2 separate regions of the Homo sapiens genome follow, and region 2 is linked to region 1. The links are contacts of gene promoters, found by promoter capture Hi-C in human tissues and cell types (Jung and others, 2019). All regions are on one chromosome and are shown on one strand. The core of a region is centred on a gene start or on the middle of the fragment in contact, and the rest is flanking DNA. Distances in the headings are between cores, read along the strand shown. Region 1 holds the start of TRIM60 (tripartite motif containing 60). Region 2 overlaps SMIM31 (small integral membrane protein 31).

What was found. The method cuts DNA at HindIII sites, captures the fragments that hold promoters and counts their contacts. A contact is called where the count stands out against the background at its distance.
Region 2: a contact is called between a fragment that was not itself captured here and the fragment with the promoter of TRIM60 in region 1, in 2 of the 25 tissues and cell types used here (H1 embryonic stem cells and hippocampus).

What each region holds. Positions count from the first base shown.
Region 1 is chr4:165,029,309-165,033,313 of GRCh38, reverse strand. It overlaps TRIM60 (tripartite motif containing 60), which reads right to left and starts at 1,315. Exons shown (of 3, transcript NM_152620.3): 1 at 1,202-1,315. RefSeq lists an enhancer at 1,157-1,813. The HindIII fragment of the contact is 10,604 bases long and covers 1-4,005 here.
Region 2 is chr4:164,759,560-164,763,305 of GRCh38, reverse strand. All of the region lies in intron 1 of SMIM31 (small integral membrane protein 31), which reads right to left. Among named protein-coding and RNA genes, the nearest start is that of SMIM31, 7.3 kb to the right of the region's middle. The HindIII fragment of the contact is 4,152 bases long and covers 384-3,746 here.

The sequences.
Region 1 (4,005 bases), core at 66-2,565:
ATTAGGCTAATAAATCAAACCTGCAGTAGATTCCCTACTCTCAAAATTCAACCTCTACTGCTTGAGATCTTGTCACATTAAAAAAGAAAAATTCAACCTCTATTACCTTATTTATTTTACTTTTTGAGACAGGATCTCACTCTGTCGCCAAGGCTGGAGTGCAGTGGCGCGATCTCCATTCACTGCAACCTCTGCCTCCAGGCTCAAGCGATCCTCGCACCTCAGCCTCCCGAGTAGCTGGGACCACAGGCACGCCCCACCATGCCCGGATTTTTTTTTTTTTTTTTGTAGAGACAGGGGTCTCACTATGTTGCCCAGGCACGAGCGTGAGCTAGAACTCCTGGGTTCAAGCGATCCTCCCGCATCGGCCTCCTCATGGGGTTACAGGTGTGAGCCACCGCGCCTGGCTCCTACTCTGATTCTTGTGCTGGTTCATAGTGTGGGCTCAGTGAATATAAATCAAACCTGTGGGAGATTCCCAGATCTCAAGATTCAACCTCTATTACTTTAGATGATACGAAACGTAAGTGAGCCTAAACTTTCTCATCCGTAGCAGTTTCCTGACAGCCAGATCCTTGTGAGGACGGAAGGAGACAAAATCCGCCAGAGAAGTGCTGGCGCTGTAGGGTGGGAGGTCCTTCCTTAACGCTCCCACCATAATTTTTGGAGATCACGTGGCCACTTCCCAAACTGGTGTTCAGATCAGAATCTTCTTTAAAGTTCAATCATCGGGGTCCCACTGCCTCCGCGGCGAAAACAGAATCCGGCCGAGCACGGTGGCTCACGCCTGTAACCCCAGCACTTTGGAAGGCCGAGGCGGGCGGACCACCTGAGGTCGGAAGTTCGACACCAGCCTGGCCAACATGGAGAAACCTCGTCTCTACTAAAAATACAAAAATTAGCTGGGTGTGGTGGCGAGCGCCTGTAATCCCAGCTACTCAGGAGGCTGAGACAGGAGAATCGCTTGAATCCGGGAGGCGGAGGTTGCAGTGAGGCGAGATTGCGCCACTGCACTCCAGCGTGGGTGACAGAGCGAGACTCCGTCTCAGAAACAAAAAAAAGGATCCACAGTCTGAGCTCAGTCGTGGACAGGTCGCGACCCCGAGGTTTGGGCACAGCTGATACTCAGGAAGCCCCTGCCCAGTTAAGTAAGCCTCCCGCCAGGCCCTACTGCGCCTTTCCTGCGGCCCTCCCAGCTTACCTGGAGCAGTTGGACCGGCGGCTCAGGCCTGATGCTGTGCAGGACCCATGGAACCCCGCGGGGCGCAGAGCGGAAACCCTCACACAACCCTGGGCGCCTTGGTTTTCGAGTTTTAGGCATACAATTGACCAGCGCGGTGGTTGGCTGCTCCACCGGAAGTGGGCGGGAAAGGCCTGAGCATGCTCAATGCCGCAGGGTGCAGGGAGCGTGAGAAGATTCTGAGGAGAGCCTAGGGCGGTTCCCTCCGTGGTGGGGTCCCTGATGGCTTCAGTGGGTCATTTAAATCACAATGGCAATCTTTTCAGATTTTTCATTCCTATGAGCAACTTTTTTTTTTTCTTTTTTTTTGAGACAGGGTCTGGTGCGGTCTCGGCTCACTGTAGTCTCGACCATCCGGGCTCAAACGATCCTCCCACTTCACAGGCGCGCGCCACCACGCCCAGCTGATTGTTGTATTTTTTGGTGGAGACTGGGTTTCGCCACGTTCCCCGGGCTGGTCTCGAACTCATGGGCTCAAGCGATCCGCCTGCCTCGCTGTGAGCCACCGCGCCCGGCCAGGGTGGTTAGTTTTAAAATGCAAGAGGAATAATCAGCTCTTTGGATCAGTTTGCGTCTCTGGTTGAGAGGCTGCGTAGTTACCACCCTGGAGATTAGGCCCCACCCTACCAACTAAGACTCACCAAGGTCTCGTCTGAGGAATTGATATTTAAAGTAGATTTTAAGGGACGAGTATGAGTTTGTTGGACAAACTTGACGGTAAAATCTTCAAGGCTGAAGGATTAGTCCTTGTGAGGAGCCTCTTAAGTCTTATAACTTGGTAAATGAGACAGTGAAAGAGGCTAATATTTGCAGAAGAAGTCATAGAATCGGCATAGCACTTTTTTATTTATTTATTTATTTTTGAGACGGAGTCTCGCTGTGTTGCCCAGGCTGGAGTGCAGTGGCACGATCTCGGCTCACTGCAAGCTCTGCCTCCCGGGTTCACGCTGTTCTCCTGCCTCAGCCCCCCGAGTGGCTAGGACTACAGGCGCCCGACACCACGCCCAGCTAATTTTTTCTATTTTTTAGTAGAGACGGGGTTTCACTCTGTTAGCCAGGATGGTCTCGATCTCCTGACCTCGTGATCCACCCGTCTCGGCCTCCCAAAGTGCTGGGATTACAGGCGTGAGCCATCGCGCCTGGCCGGCGCACTTTTCTGTTTAAAATGTAGGGCTACTTGGCCAGGCGCGGTGGTTCACACATGCAATCCCAGCACTTTGGGAGGCCAAGGCGGGCGGATCAGCTGAGGTCGGGAGTTCGAGACCAACCTGGCTAAAGTGGCAAAACCCCGTCTCTCTAAAAATACAAAAAATTAGCCGGGCATGGTGGTGCATGCCTGTAATCCCAGCTACTCGGGAGGCTGAGGCAGGAGAAGAGCTTGGACCCGGGAGGCGGAGGTTGCAGTGAGCCAAGATCGGGTCACTGCACTCCAGCCTGGGCAATAGAGTGAGACTCAGTCTCAAAATAAAAATAAAAAATAAATAAATAAAATAACTTAGAGCTACCTTCCCAGAAAAATACCCTCTTGTGATGAAGTCTGAGATTTGATGGAAGAGTGGGAAGTAGGAACAGGGAACAATAAGTGAAATCTTCAAATCTTCACACCTTAGTGCAGAAGATGCAAACAGAGAGGATGATAAAGGCTGTGGTTGGGAGGACACTGATCTGGAGTCTGACCAATGGGATGAAGGAAAGGAAACTCTAAAGGCTTAAGGCTGAATGGGGCCAGATTCCACCATAAAATTAAACCAAAGGCTGGGCGGGTGGCTCACGCCTGTAATCCCAGCACTTTGGAAGACCAAATGGAGAGGATTGCTTGAGGCCCGGAGTTCAAGACCAGCCTGAGTGACAGAGCGAGACTGACTCAAAACAGAAACAGAAAAGATGGATTGTATTGTGCTCCTGCTCTGGATGGAGGACCACGAATCTGTTCTGCAAGGACATAAGGAGCTCATGGTCCTCTGTGTACCCCTGACTAGTGCACACAGGGCATCTCTGAGCCTCTGCTGGGAACAGAATATCTCAGTGAGAATCACCTTAGGGGTACAGGTGAGGGAGACTCAGTAAAAGGCATGGAGCCTTCAGCAGGACCTAAGCTGGGGGTAGCCACATGGGAAAGAACCTTGCTGACTCATGTATTTTAATTTTTAGCAATACTTATGTACTTTAGAAACACATATATTTTAATATATATTTAAAATTTCATATAATTATAAATATTTTTATTGTATTATAGTAGCATGATATGTATATATTATATGTAAATATTTTACATGATATGTATATATTACCTATAAAAATTACGTATTTTATTTAATGAAAATTAAAATTTTTCTTATGGTATTATGTTAACATATGTATGTACACATAAACATGTGCAGTTCACTTTTTAACTCTTAAATCTTCAATGAGGAAGTTCTTTTATCATATGGGAATTGAAGAATTATACTTCTTGGAAGGAGCTTCACGCCAATTTACTTGTGGTCCCTCTAATTTTGTCAAAGGTGCTCTCTGTAAACAGAATATCTATCATTACAGTCAGCAGAAACATGAGAAACAAAAAAAATCTTTGGAATATCTTGAATTTGTGCCACATAAAACTCCTATTAAAAAATCTATATTCGTATTTATCCTTACATTAAATTAAAAGACATTGAGAGGCACTATTAGCAATCATTTTTGTATAATCATCAGACATCTACCTTTCCAAATTGAATTATAATATTTGATAAAAATATGTGCTTGAAATTAGAACCTAGTTAGGT
Region 2 (3,746 bases), core at 1,210-3,709, 270 kb after region 1:
ATATAACATGTTGAAGAATTTTGGAAACTAAAGAGAATAGGAAATAGGAAATAAAATCAGGGAAGGGTTTGTGTTTTTATTTTGATATTCTCATTTAATGAATTGAATTATTGAGGCAATGGGCATTTATAAGGTTGAAAGAAGCATTGCCAAATTTACAAGTCTCTAAAGTATAGGTTTACTAAAGTTCTTTTCCCCTTCATAAGGGTATATACACTGTATATAATGTTGTGAATAACTTTCATTTTTTTCTTTATGTCTTTTGTCTTTAACTAGATATTCATCCCCTAAGCAAAACAATCAGAATTCTTTTGTGCTTGAAAAATATTAGATCTCCAAAGTCACTTTAACTTGGAGTCATTAGAGCTTTATTTTTGCCCAAGGAGAGCATGAATTCAGGTATCTTTAGGTTTTCCCCTTTGCATGTTCTTCAAAGCGTTTCATTCTTCTAGGCAGAGTGGAATCACATAAACTCACCCACAACTGTGTAGCTCCGATGCTTTCAATATGATAGATGAAGTGTGCACTGAATATAAGCAAGTGTTCTGTACATTGTTTTATAGCAGCATTGTGCGCTCTGATTAGATACTGAACACTTTCTTTCTTTTTCTTTTTCTTTTTCTTTTTTTTTTTTTTTTTTTTTGAGACAGAGTCTTACTCTGTTGCCCAGACTGGAGTGCAGTGGTGCGATCTTGGTTCACCGCAACCTCTGCTTCCTGGGTTCAAAATATATATATATTTTAGTATTTTTAGTAGAGATGGGGTTTCACCCTGTTGCCCAGGCTGGTCTTAAACTCTTGACCTCAAGTAATCTGCCTGCCTCGGCTTCCCGAAGTGCTGGGATTATAGGTGTGAGCCACCACGCCTGGCCAGATATTGAATACTTTCAATCATTTGATTGAATTAAACATTTATTCAGTCATCTTGGTTGAATTAGGTATTTGTTAAAATAGAAGAAGGCTTTACTTAGAACATTATACCTTATTCCCAATTCCTTGACTTTCTGTTGATGTTAGGTATATCTCCAGTCTTTAGAATCCCTAAAATTTTGCAGAGATTATTCTGTTTTTGCCCATGCTTGTTATCCATTTAAAGGAAGATATATTTATAGTCCCCTTTCAGTCATAAGCTTCACACCCCAAAGTTCCTATTTAAAGTTGCAAGCAGTTTCCCATTTCACAACCACTAGACCCTGTAGAGTGAGCTCTGTGTGAGCTTTGGGGGTGGTGGCATGTGGAGAGGTGAGGTGACTCTTTCACGTTTCTCCTCCCTCCTGCCGACATTGGCTGAGCTAGCAGGAGCTCTGGAAGTGGGAGGCAACGCAAAGCATCAGAGACCTGATTATTTATTTATTTATTTATTTATTTATTTATTTATTTATTTGAGGTGGAGTCTTGCTCTGTCGCCCAGGCTAGAGTGCAGTGGCAGGATCTCGGCTCACTTCAACCTCCCCTTCCCGGGTTCAAGCACTTCTCTGTCTCAGCCTCCTGAGTAGATGGGATTACAGGCACTAGCCACCACACCTGGCTAATTTTTTTTTTTTGTATTTTTAGTAGAGATGGGGTTTCACCATCTTGGCCAGGCTGGTCTTGAACTCCTGACCTCGTGAGACACCCTCTTTGGCCTCCCAAAGTGCTGGGATTGCAGGCGTGAGCCACAGTGCCCAGCCAGAGACCTTATTAAACTGAGTCTTATGAACAGGGTGGAGATTACCTGTTGCAATCCAGGTATAACTATGATGGTGGGCCACTGGGCTGCTGGACAGTAGAATTGACCCAACTCTTTGCAACTACAGACTCTACTGTAGGCATGAGGAATTGACTATGGCTTCTTTTATAATGTGAAACAGTGTTGTAATTTCTATTTTGCTAGGTTTCAAAGGGCAGAAACTGTAACTACCTCGCCAAGGTTCAAAGGTGATTTATGAATTTTTTTAAGATAAGGATGAATGACTCAGTAATAGAATTAAGATGATTATGTAAAGAATAAAAATCAATTCAAGAAAATTGTTCTATTTGTTTCCTAGAATTCTTAAATTGTTGATTTACTTCTTCATAGTAGAAAGACTATTTCCCTGATAAAGTTATGCTATGGCATAAAGATAAATTATTAGTAAATCCTGTGATTTTCTTTTAAATGAAAAATTCACACTCAAATACTACTATATTTGAAAATATGGTTGGTTTCAAAATGGGAAGAATAACCAAAGCATTTAATTCTTTGGCTTAGAATGGCAATAAAATATTTATCATAGATGGGCAATTGGCTTTGAGAAAATATGTAATATTTCTAAACTTCAAGAAACTTAAGAGATTTCACTGGACAAAGATCTCATGCATCCTTGGACTTGTACATACTATTTCTCAAACTTAATGTGTTTAAAACAGAATTCCTTCTTTGTCTCACCCCCTTTATTTCCCTTTTCATTGACAGTAGCTCCATGTTTCTAGTTGTTCAGGATAAAATCCTCAAAGTCATCCTTGACTCCTATCTTTCTTTCACAGTTCATATCCTCTTCTTTCAAGAAATCCTATTGGCTTTATCTTTTTTTTTTTTTTTTTTTTTTTAGGTGGAGTCTCACTCTTCTGTCCAGGCTGGAGCATAGTGGCGTTATCTCAGCTCACTGCAACCTCCACTTTCCAGGTTCCAGTGATCCTCCCACCTCAGCCTCCTGAATAGCTAGGATTACAGGCGCCCACCACCACACCTGGCTCATGTTTGTATTTTTTTTTTTTTTAGTAGAGTTGGGGTTTCACCATGTTGGCCAGGCTGGTCTTGAACTCCTGACCTCAAGTGATCCACCCGCCTTGGCCTCCCAAAGTGCTGGGATTACAAGCATGAGCCACCAGGCCTGGCCCCTATTGGCTTTATCTTCAACATACATTCAGAATCCCACCACTTCCATTGCAACCACCCTGATTTGAAGCACTACTACTCACAAGGTTTAATGAAATAGGGTCTTAACTGATCTCTCAATGTCTCCCTTTGCTTTTCTTTCTACCCTTAAGACAGCATTTTAAGATTGTAAGGCATACTACATTGCCTATCTAGTCAACACTCTATTATGGCTCCTATTTCACTCAGATTAAAAGCCAGTATCCTTGCAAATGTCCTGTTGGAAGACCCTAAATTATCTGGTCCTGCTTTGTCTCTGACTTTCTCTCCTACTTTCCTCCCCGTCATTTCCTCCATTCTAGGTGCACTATCCTCCTGGCTTTTGCTCCTTCACTCCAGGCATATTTCCACCAGAGGGCCTTTGTACTGGCTATTCTCTTTACCTGGAATGCGCTTCTCTGGAGACCTGAATGGCTTACCCTCTTACCTCCTTCAAGCCTTTGCTCAGAGGTGTTACTTTCTCAGTGTGGTCTACTCTCACCCTCATATTAAAAGTTGGAACTCCCCGCAGTCTCCTTAGCCTGCTTTGTTATATTTTTGCAAAGCAATTATTACCTTCTAATCTTTACTTATTTATTGTATTTATTGTTTAGTATAATAGAATTTAAGCTTCATGAGGGCGAGGATTTTTGTGTGTTTTGTTTGCTGAGCCTAGAACAGTGCTTGGAATAGTACCTGGCTAGATATTTAGCCAGGAGGAGCTCAATTAGTATTTACCAATATGATTCAGTGAATGAATGAATGAATGAATGAAGATCTAATGAAGTGGATACAGATTTGCCTGGTGGAATGATACCTCATTGATAGGGATATCTTTAGGTCACTATAAAAATAAATTTGATAGGGAGTTT